2 separate regions of the Homo sapiens genome follow, and region 1 is linked to region 2. The links are contacts of gene promoters, found by promoter capture Hi-C in blood cells and fetal thymus (Javierre and others, 2016). All regions are on one chromosome and are shown on one strand. Each heading gives the region's core, a stretch centred on a gene start or on the middle of the fragment in contact. The rest is flanking DNA. Distances are from core to core; before and after follow the strand shown. Region 1 overlaps LOC124902469 (a long non-coding RNA gene). Region 2 holds the start of MAT1A (methionine adenosyltransferase 1A).

The links. The method cuts DNA at HindIII sites, captures the fragments that hold promoters and counts their contacts. A CHiCAGO score of 5 or more calls a contact.
Region 1: a fragment that was not itself captured here is called in contact with the fragment with the promoter of MAT1A in region 2 in 3 of 17 cell types (M1 macrophages, M0 macrophages and M2 macrophages); the score reaches 5.8 in M1 macrophages.

Annotation. Positions count from the first base shown.
Region 1 is chr10:79,599,445-79,604,173 of GRCh38, reverse strand. LOC124902469 (a long non-coding RNA gene) reads left to right here. Exons shown (of 2, transcript XR_007062215.1): 2 at 557-816. Among named protein-coding and RNA genes, the nearest start is that of SFTPA1, 9.1 kb to the left of the region's middle. The HindIII fragment of the contact is 413 bases long and covers 2,982-3,394 here.
Region 2 is chr10:80,287,357-80,292,213 of GRCh38, reverse strand. MAT1A (methionine adenosyltransferase 1A) reads left to right here and starts at 2,556. Exons shown (of 9, transcript NM_000429.3): 1 at 2,556-2,881. The coding sequence starts at 2,791. RefSeq lists an enhancer at 2,427-2,721. The HindIII fragment of the contact is 1,385 bases long and covers 2,056-3,440 here.

The sequences.
Region 1 (4,729 bases), core at 1,939-4,438, 690 kb after region 2:
CCTTTGTTCTGTTCTATACCACGGGGTACAATAGTGTTTTCAGGGTAATTAGTATATTTTACTTCTTATTTCTGTAATCTTTGGCACTAGATTCTTTCCTTGTATAATACACAATTTTAACCCATGCCTACTTAATCTTATAAAACTTTTTTTTTCCTCTCTCACTTAGAGGTTATCAAACTCAAGATGATCAGGCAATCAGAGCCTCAGATGATGGCTCCCTTTTGTCAGGGACCTTTAGATAGACGTCTGGGAGGAATCTGACTGACATTTTCCCCAAAAAAACTCCCCCTGTCAGCAGGAAGTAGCTAAGACTTGTCATCGTCCATATTCTAAAGGCAGTTAGATGTGCCTCTTCAGAGGAGGGGAATGATAATGACAGGAGACAGTGACACACTGGGTAAAAAAAGGGTGACTCCCCAACAAAGACCCCACCCTCAAGCCTGAAGACCTGTGGCCCTAAATGAGAAAAGACATTTCTGTTTTCATGACCAAAAAGTTGCCTTTTGTTCTGCCACAACCCCTATCCTGCAACCATATAAACCTTGAACCCCAGGCTCCAGAAGCAGACCAGCAGACTAGCAGACAAGCAGATGGACAGTGGAACGACGTGGCAGAGAGAGAGAGAAGAGGAGGAACATCTGAACACTGAGGGGAGTTTGCCCAGGGGCGATCGGAGAAGATACCAGCTACTGGATGGCCCGCCTCCAAGGGAAGATCACCTTCCCACTCCATTTCCCTTTCCAGTCCCCAATCCATCTCACTGAGAGCCACCTCCACCACTCAATAAAATCTTGCACTCATCCTTCAAGCCCACATGTGATCTGATTCTTCCAGGATGCTGGGTGAAAGCTTGGGATACAGAAAGCTGTCACACAGGCCCTCTGCCCTTAGGATAAGGCAGAGGGTCCATTGAGCTGATTAACACTCAAGCCACCTGCGTATGCAAAACTGAAAGAGTTTTGTAACACCAGGATTACAGGCACCCATCCCTAGACTCTACTGAACAGCTGGAGCCCAAAGCACTCACCCCAGCCTCTGAACCTGCCCATCTGCATGCTCCCCCTAGGGGTTTGAGCAGTGGGGCAACCAAACAGGTGAGCCACACCCCTGTCATGCATCCTGTGAGGGGGATCAGGGGACTCTCCCGTTTCAAAGGGGTGCAGAGTGGAGGCCATGTACAGGCACTAAGGACAGTGCATGGGCTTCTCTGCATATTTGAGGCCTCTCTCTTAGTGCTCAGGGGACCCTTCCCCTGCCCCCTTTTCCAGCTGCCCTGGGTGCTAGCAGTAGGAGGAGGCTGTCTGTGACTGCTGGATCTTTCTGTCACTTTGGATCATCACAGCACTCTATGAGTTGTACAGAGAGTAAATCCCCATTCCATACTTCAGTCAGCTGAGGATGACAGGGGTTACATGGATTGCCAGAATTACCAGAAATCTTCTTTCCAGCTCAGTCCTCTGCTAGAACCTTCCCAGAGTCAGAGGAACATGCTTATTCTACCTGTACATGAAGACAAGGGAATGCACAAATTAATTTACTAATCATGGATATATTTCAAAATCGCTTATAATGTCAGAATCTAAGGGACAGCTCAGCCACATGAAGGGGATGGAAGTTGAGGCTTTTCTTTGCTGAGGCAGCCAGCAAACTAAGCAAATATGTGTGTATGCATTATATACATATATATACACACACATATATTGTGTGCTGTATGTTTACATACATATATATTACATTGATGCCTCTCTAATAATGCCATTTTATTTTTAAAAAGAATAACACTGTAAATATATTTCTGTTGCCTAGAAATAGCATCCAATTTGCCTTAAAAATCACATTACTTGTTTTTATTTTCATTTTTGCCAATGCAGCCTTGTCACCCTTCTTTCTGCCCTGAACATTTTGAACCTTCCAAACCCCAGAGAAATACATCATGCTTTACTGAGGTTTTGAGGAGAGGGAGAGAGGTTTTCCCATTCTGCACCTTGGAGGAATTGAAACTGGCAGGTGGCAGCAACTGTCTTCAAAGAAATAGGCTCAGGAACACACACGTGCAGACACACACACACACATTCTCTTACTTTGCACCAATAAGATCATACTGCATATACTGTTCTACAATTAGTGTTTTCTCTTACATATGCCAGCCATCTTTTCAGATTGACACATAGGGATATAATTGTAACTATAGTCTTTTCTTGGAGTTTGTTTGTTTTTACTTCTGGTAATATATTCTTTACTATCTTTTTAATTTAAAAAATGTTATTTTTGACACAATTATTTTACATACATATGGGCACAGTGGACTATTTTGATACATGTATGTAACGTGCAATGATGAAATCAAGGTAAGCAGCATATTCATCACCTCAAAAACTTACTGTTTTGTGTTGATAACATTCAAAATCCTCTCTTTTAGCTATTTGAAAGTATACATAATTTTTTTGTTGGCTATGGTCACCCTACAGCGCTAAAGAAGGCTACAACTCATTTCTCCTATCTAGCTGTAATTTTGTACCCATTGCCCCACCTTTCCCATTTCTCATTCCCCTTAATCTTCCCAGCCTCTAATATATTCTGTTCTACTGTTTACTTACTGTTCTATGTTTACTTCTATGAGATTAACTAAGTTTTCTTAGCATCCACAAATGAGTGAGAACATGCTGTGTTTAATTTTCTTTTCCTGGCTTTATTTCACTTAACATAATGGCTCACCCATGTTGCTATGAATGGCAGAATTTTATTCTTTCTTATGGATGAACTGTATTCCATTGTGTTTAGTTACTACATGTTTTAAATCCATTCATTCACTGATAGACACTTAGGTTGATTCCATATCTTGGCTATTATGAATAGCTCCGCAATAAACATAGGAGGGTAGATACCTCTTTAACATACTGGGTTCCTTTTCTTTGAATACCCAGTAGTGGGATTGCTAGATTATATGATAGTTCTAGTTTTAGGTTTTCAAGAAAGCTTCATTTTGCTTTCCATAATGGCTGTAGTACTTTCCATTTCCACCAACAGTGTATGAGTTCCCTTTTCTCTGCACCCGCACCAGTATTTATTCTTTTTTGTCTTATTGATAAAAGCCAGTCTACCTGGGGTGAGATAATTTATTTTGGTTTCATTTGCATTTATCTTAGGAATAAAGATATTGAGTGTCATTTATATACGTGGCCATTTTTATGTCTTCTTTTGAGAAGTGTCTGTTCAGATCATTTGCCTATTTTTAAATTGGATTATTTGAATGTTTTGCTGTGGAATTGTTTGAGTTCCTTTTATATTCAGGATATTAATCCCTTATTGGATGAATAGCTTGTGGATATTTCTCCCACTCTGCAGGCCGTCTCTTCACTCAGTTGATTGTTTTCTTTTCTGTGCAGAAGCTTTTTAGTTTGATATAACCATATTGGCTTATTTTTGGTTTTTGTTCCCAGTACTTTTGAGGTCTCTCCATAAAATCTTCATCCAGACCAATATCCTGAAGCACTTCTCCTATGCTTTTTCCTACTAGTTTCATACCTTTGGGTCTTATGTTTAAGGCTTTAATCCATTTCATGTTTTTTTTTAATGTATAAGAGATAGGGGTCTAGTTTCATTCTTCTGCATATGAATATTCAGTTTTCCCAGCACCATTTATTGAACATTTATTGTCCTTTCCCCCAATGTATGTTATTGGTGCCATTGCCAGAAATCAGTTGGCTATAAATATGTAAATTTATTTCTGTGTTCTCTATTCTGTTCCATTGGTCTATGCATCTGTTTTTATACGAGTACTATGCTGTTTTGGTTATCATAGATTTGTAGTACATTATGAAGTCAGGTAATGTGATGCCTTCAACTTTTCATTTTTTGCTCAGGATTACTTTGACTACTTGGTGTTTTATAGTTCCACACAAACTTTATGATTTTTTTCTTTTTCATTTTTTTAAAATAAACATGGGTATCGGGGGAACCCACCCCCAATAATTCAACATGAGTCCTTTTCTATTTTCCCTAAGTGTCGGCCAGTCTGAGAAATAAAAGGAAAAAGTACAAAAGAGAAATTTTTAAAGCTGGGTGTCCGGGGGAGACATCACATGTTGGCAGGTTCTGTGATGCCCCCTGAGCTGTAAAAGCAGCAAGTTTTTATTAGCAATTTTCAAAAGTGAGGGAGTGTAGGAGTAGGGTGCGGGTCACAGAGATCACATGCTTCAAGGGCAACAAAAGATCACAAGGCAGAAGGTCAGGGCAAAACTAGAATCACTAATGAACTTCCATGTCCCGCTGTGCACGCATTGTCAGGGTTCAAGGGCAGAGAACTGGTCTGACTAGAATTCGCCAGGCTGGAATTTCCTAAATCCTAGCAAGCCTGGGGATGCTGCAGGAGACTAGGGCGTGTTTCATCCCTATCTACATCTGCATAAGGCAGACATTCTCAGGGCGGCCATTTTAGAGGCCCCCCCGGGAATGCATTCTTTTCCCAGGGCAGTAAATTATTAATATTCCTTACCGAAATAATTCAGTTATATTTATCTTATCCGTTTTCGGTAATAAGAGAAATATGGCTCTGTCCTGCCCAGCCCACAGGCAGCCAGACTTTAAGGTTATCTCCCTTGTTCCCTGAAAATCGCTGTTACCCTGATCTTAAGGTTCCCAGATTTCATATTGTTCAAACACACATGCTCTACAAACAATTTGTGCAGTCAATGCAATCATCACATGGTCCTGAGGGGATATACAT
Region 2 (4,857 bases), core at 1,307-3,806:
AGGAGTTCGAGACCAGCCTGACCAACATGGTGAAACCCTGTCTCTACTAAAAATACAAAAATTAGCTGAGTGTGGTGGCGTGCACCTCTAATCCCAGCTACTCAGGAGGCCGAGGCAGGAGAATCACTTGAACCCGGGAGGCGGAGGTTGCAGTGAGCTGAGATCATGCCATTGCACTCCAGCCTGGGTGACAGAGTGAGACTTCATCCCCCCCCAATAAAAAAACATAAGGCCTATCTGTATTTAGAGATGTGAACAGAGGGCCACGATATATTGTGGGGGGAAAAAAGCGAGATGCAAAATTATATGTGTATATGTGTATATTCACATATACATACATATGTATACATACCATAATCTATTTTTGTTCAGAGGAAAATCATATGTATGTAAATAGACTGCTTAATAATATTAGCTGATATTTATTAAATTTGTATTGTGTGCTAGCACTTTGTCCAATACTCATCATACCTAAATGACCTCATTTAGTTCTCAAAATAACACTAGGAGGTAGGTAATTATTTAACCCGCTTTACAGCAGAAGAAACAACAGATTAGAAAGGTTAGGAAGCCTTCTCCATGCTGCATGGGAGGTTACAGGCAAAAGTTGGACCCTAGTCCAGAAGCCTGCACTTCCATCCACCATGCTCCGTGTACTGCTTCTTAACATTTACTTGCTAGAAGAATATAAGGCATCCTAGTATTTAGTTGGGGTCTTAAATGAAACTCATACTTGAGATGAGTTTTTAACGAGGTGCCTCTCAGATCCCTCCCTCACACCCTCAATTGGCATCCAGGCTGCCAAAGCCCCCTGCACACATATCTGTGTAACAGATCGTCTCCCCACCCTGACGCCTTCCACCCCATGGTGCTGTTACTTATGGAATTCAGAAGGCAGCTACTGCTTTGTTTTCTGTCTTCCTGATAACTCTAGGAACCTTGAAGAGTACCTGCTACTTACACATCATCTTGTTCTTAAATCAAATTTGGACCATAATTGTTATCATACAATTTTAACTGCTAAGGTCACCTAGTTCTACAGTTCAAATTAAACATTAGCTCATATTGCCTCTAGGTTTAAAACTAATGTACCCAGAAGAAATTTACTAAGGGCCAGCAATGTTGAAATAGCTTAAGTGCAAACAGAGGAGTCCTGTGTGCTGGCAATGACAAGGCGATGTTGTCTAAAGTCCCTATTTGATTCCTCGTTTGTCCATCCCTTCCCAGTGGCCTTTTCCTCTCTGAACTTTCAACAGTCTTGTGCCTAAGCACTTCAGTTCACTCCTTGTTAAATGCCGTTGATTGGCTATGCATATGTAACATCCCTTACTTTATTCCAGAAGAGGTCACCTTAATACTGCTTTAATTCCCTGAAGGGATGATGTTTGGTCATCAGTTAGCAAAACTCAAGCTTTGGAGCACCAGAATGTGTGCCAGAAAAAATTTTTCCAAATGCTTGATAATAAACTCAGAGGGGGGTTTGGTCACCAGAATTGTTAGGTGAGGCTATTGCTTCCTAACTTTTGCTTCCCACAGTCCAAGCTTTGATGCACAAGGTTATGGTTGATTACTTTTTATTGCATTCTAGTGGGAACTGGTTTCTCCACCCATCCTCATTTTCTGTGGTCTCAATTCCCCATTGTTCCTTGGGTCTGAGGATGCAGCTGGATCTGAGAGTGTGAGACGCTGTCATTTAGTACATGAACTAAAGATATAATCCTGTTTACTACTTTTTTTGGTCAAAGCAAAAAATAATGCAAGAGTTATGTGAACACGATGTTTATTACATGTATAGAACTGAATATGTAGATGTTTATAATCCGGAAGCTTTGGGAAACTGGACTTTGATAATTTCCCTGTAATGAATCCATTTCTCAAAAGCATTTTTTTCTAAAAAAAACACACACACACACACACACACACACACATTGTTCTCTGTAACCTCCCCAGATAGATACTTTTTAAAGATCTTGCTTGTTAAAATGCCTGCCAGCCTTTTAGAGAAGTTGACAGGTTAGGTGGTTTCTGTTAGCAGAAACACGTGGACTCAAAGCTTTTCCTCTAAAATGAATCTGTTGTGTAACATCACAGCTGGCTCAGAATACAGGTGCGTGCTCCTGCTCTCCCTGAGAAGATAGAATGGGAAGAGACCAATCCAGATGAGACGCAGGGGAGGAGGGGACACCCAACAGCAAAGGCACTGTTGCAATCTTAGCCTAAACCATATCTCTGAGAAAGAGTTTCTTGTTGCCTGCTTGTATCTCTGGGTGATCACAGACCCCTGCTCTCCAAGGTGGGTTGTGAACTCTGGAGCACTACCAAGATTGGCTAAGAGCTGAAGGAGAGTCCCAAAGGAGCTTCAATTCTGCAGAACTATACAGCCTTCTTTACCTTACCTTGACCAGGTGCTTAGAGTTTGGAAAGTCAGGGATAAGAATTGAAATTCCTCCAGGTAAGAAGACCCCCCTCTTAGGAAATGGACTCCTCCAATTTTCTCACATGATTTTTCAGGCACTTTCGCTTTTCCATATATAGGAGTCGCTCAGGAGCAAGCTGTGGCAAGCTGGAGGGAGGGACACATCCCGTGTTCCATCCACTCCCTCCCTTCTCAGCAGTCCTCGCCTGTTCTCACGTGCTCACAGGCAGTTAGGCAGAAGTGATCCCCGTGGCTCTGCCAAAGACAAGCCTGTTGGGTTGAAAGAAGAAGAAGAAGAAGAAAAAAAAACTCAGGCAAAGTCACAGCCTCAAAATTGTTCACTGAAAGAAGCGTGAGTGGAGAAGTGTGAGAAGATGAATGGACCGGTGGATGGCTTGTGTGACCACTCTCTAAGTGAAGGAGTCTTCATGTTCACATCGGAGTCTGTGGGAGAGGGACACCCGGGTAAGTAGGCTGTCTTGGACTGACTGGAAAACGATCATTCCAAGCCTATACTGAGGGAGTCACTTACAAATGGTTTTAATTTGACACATAATAATTGTGCATATTTATGGGGTACCGTGTGTTGTTTTGATCCATGAGTATAACATTTAATGATCAAATTAGGATAATGGGCATACCCATTGCCACAGACATTGACTACTTCTTTGTGGTGAAAACATTCAAAATTCCCTCTTCTAGCCCTTCAGTCACCCTACTGCGCAATGGAATGCCAGAGCTCATTCCTCCTATCTGACTGTAACTTCGTACCTGTAGGAGTCACTTTTACCAGAGCTCTTCAGAGCAATGTGTGTGAGTTACCAGAAGGGATCTCTAGAGAAACAGCATGGAGTAGTTTCATAAAACAGTCCCTCCTGATGAAGCCGTGCTGTGGCCCACCACCAGCACGCCAGCACAGTGGGTCCAAGACAGGGAGTAGCAGCTGGCTGGCTAAGAGTATGACACATGCAAAATATATGATCAGGTCTTAACTTTTTATATGTATTTTTTTTTTAGGAAAGCTTTAATCTATTATCCATGGCCAATTTAAGTCAACAGGGAATGTTCCTGAAACAAGACCATGGGTGACTAAATTTTGCATGTGAAGCATGTGCAACTTAGGCATGAAAGCCTGCACCCTGGTCACTGCTGGGGTAGACCTCTAGGTGCTGGGGACTCAGTAACGTTCTCTAAGAGCAGAATAGAAGACCTTCTAAACAGGAAGAAAATTTAGGCATTGATTTTGGTCCCTGAAAAGTAGGTAGACTGTGATGTGCGGAAGTGAGAGAAGCTTCCTTGATGACGGTGAGAACTAGGACCAGGACATTCAGAGCCTCAAGTGTAGGACAGTGGTTCTCAAACTTCAGGGAGCTTCAGAATCCCCCAGAGGGCTTGTCAAGACAACAGAGGGCTGGGCCCCACCCTCCAGAGTTTCTGATTCAGTAGGTCTTGGGAGAGGCTCGAGAATTTGCATTTTTGACAAGTTCCCAGGAGATGCTGATGCTCTGGGGTGAGAACCACTGCTCTTGGAGACCCCTGGGGGATAGATGTACAGACTTCTATAGTTAAGTCCCTCTTCAAAATTCATTCGAGTGTTTGCTAACTTATTGCCAAGTCTGCCTTTTTCCATCTTCCTTGCTCTTGTTCTTCCTCAAAGATATTTATCTTTCCTACCTTGTAACTTGGCTTTGGACACCTCAGTGCACTACTCCTTCCATATACTTTAGCCAGTGGTTTTTGACTGGTGGCAGTTTTGCCCCACAACCCCCAAGAGCATTTTGTACTGTCTGGAGACATTTGCAGTTATCACAACTATAGGAGGTGGGGGTAAGGTGCTACTGCCATGTATTGAGTAGAGGTCAGGCACACTGCTAAGCATCCTACAGTGCACAGGACAGCCTCTCAAGAATTATCTGGCCCAAAATGTTAATAGTGCAGCTGTTGAAAAACCTTGAATTGAATTGAGTTTTTTATGTGACTTAGCTCAGTTCAATGTAAATAGCCTCTTTCATTGTGCATAACTGTATAAAGTATCTAGGTTTACTGTATTTTCAATCTCAGATACATTGCTGATTTCTGACACATTCTGATCAGCTCCATGGCTATGAGCCTCATGTATAGGTTAGGAGAAAGATTCACTCCACCCGGAGGAAGTGGGTTTTTTGGCATGCAGCGGCTAGTGGTCCCAAGAATGGTCCATTGTGCGCAGCAGCAATGTGCTCAGAGGACTGAGAATGAACGTGCCAGCCAATCAATTGATTGTTTTGTATACTTAATGACAGCCAATCAATTTGTCTAATCGTCCCTTGTACTTGCCATTGTAATTGTCCAGGTAAGTCAGTTTCCATGGAGGCTAGGTGACTTTCTGCTTGTCATTCCATTGCTGAATTCCTCTCTGCTAGAAAGATAAAGGTTTTCTTCTCTGGTTTTCCAAAAAAACA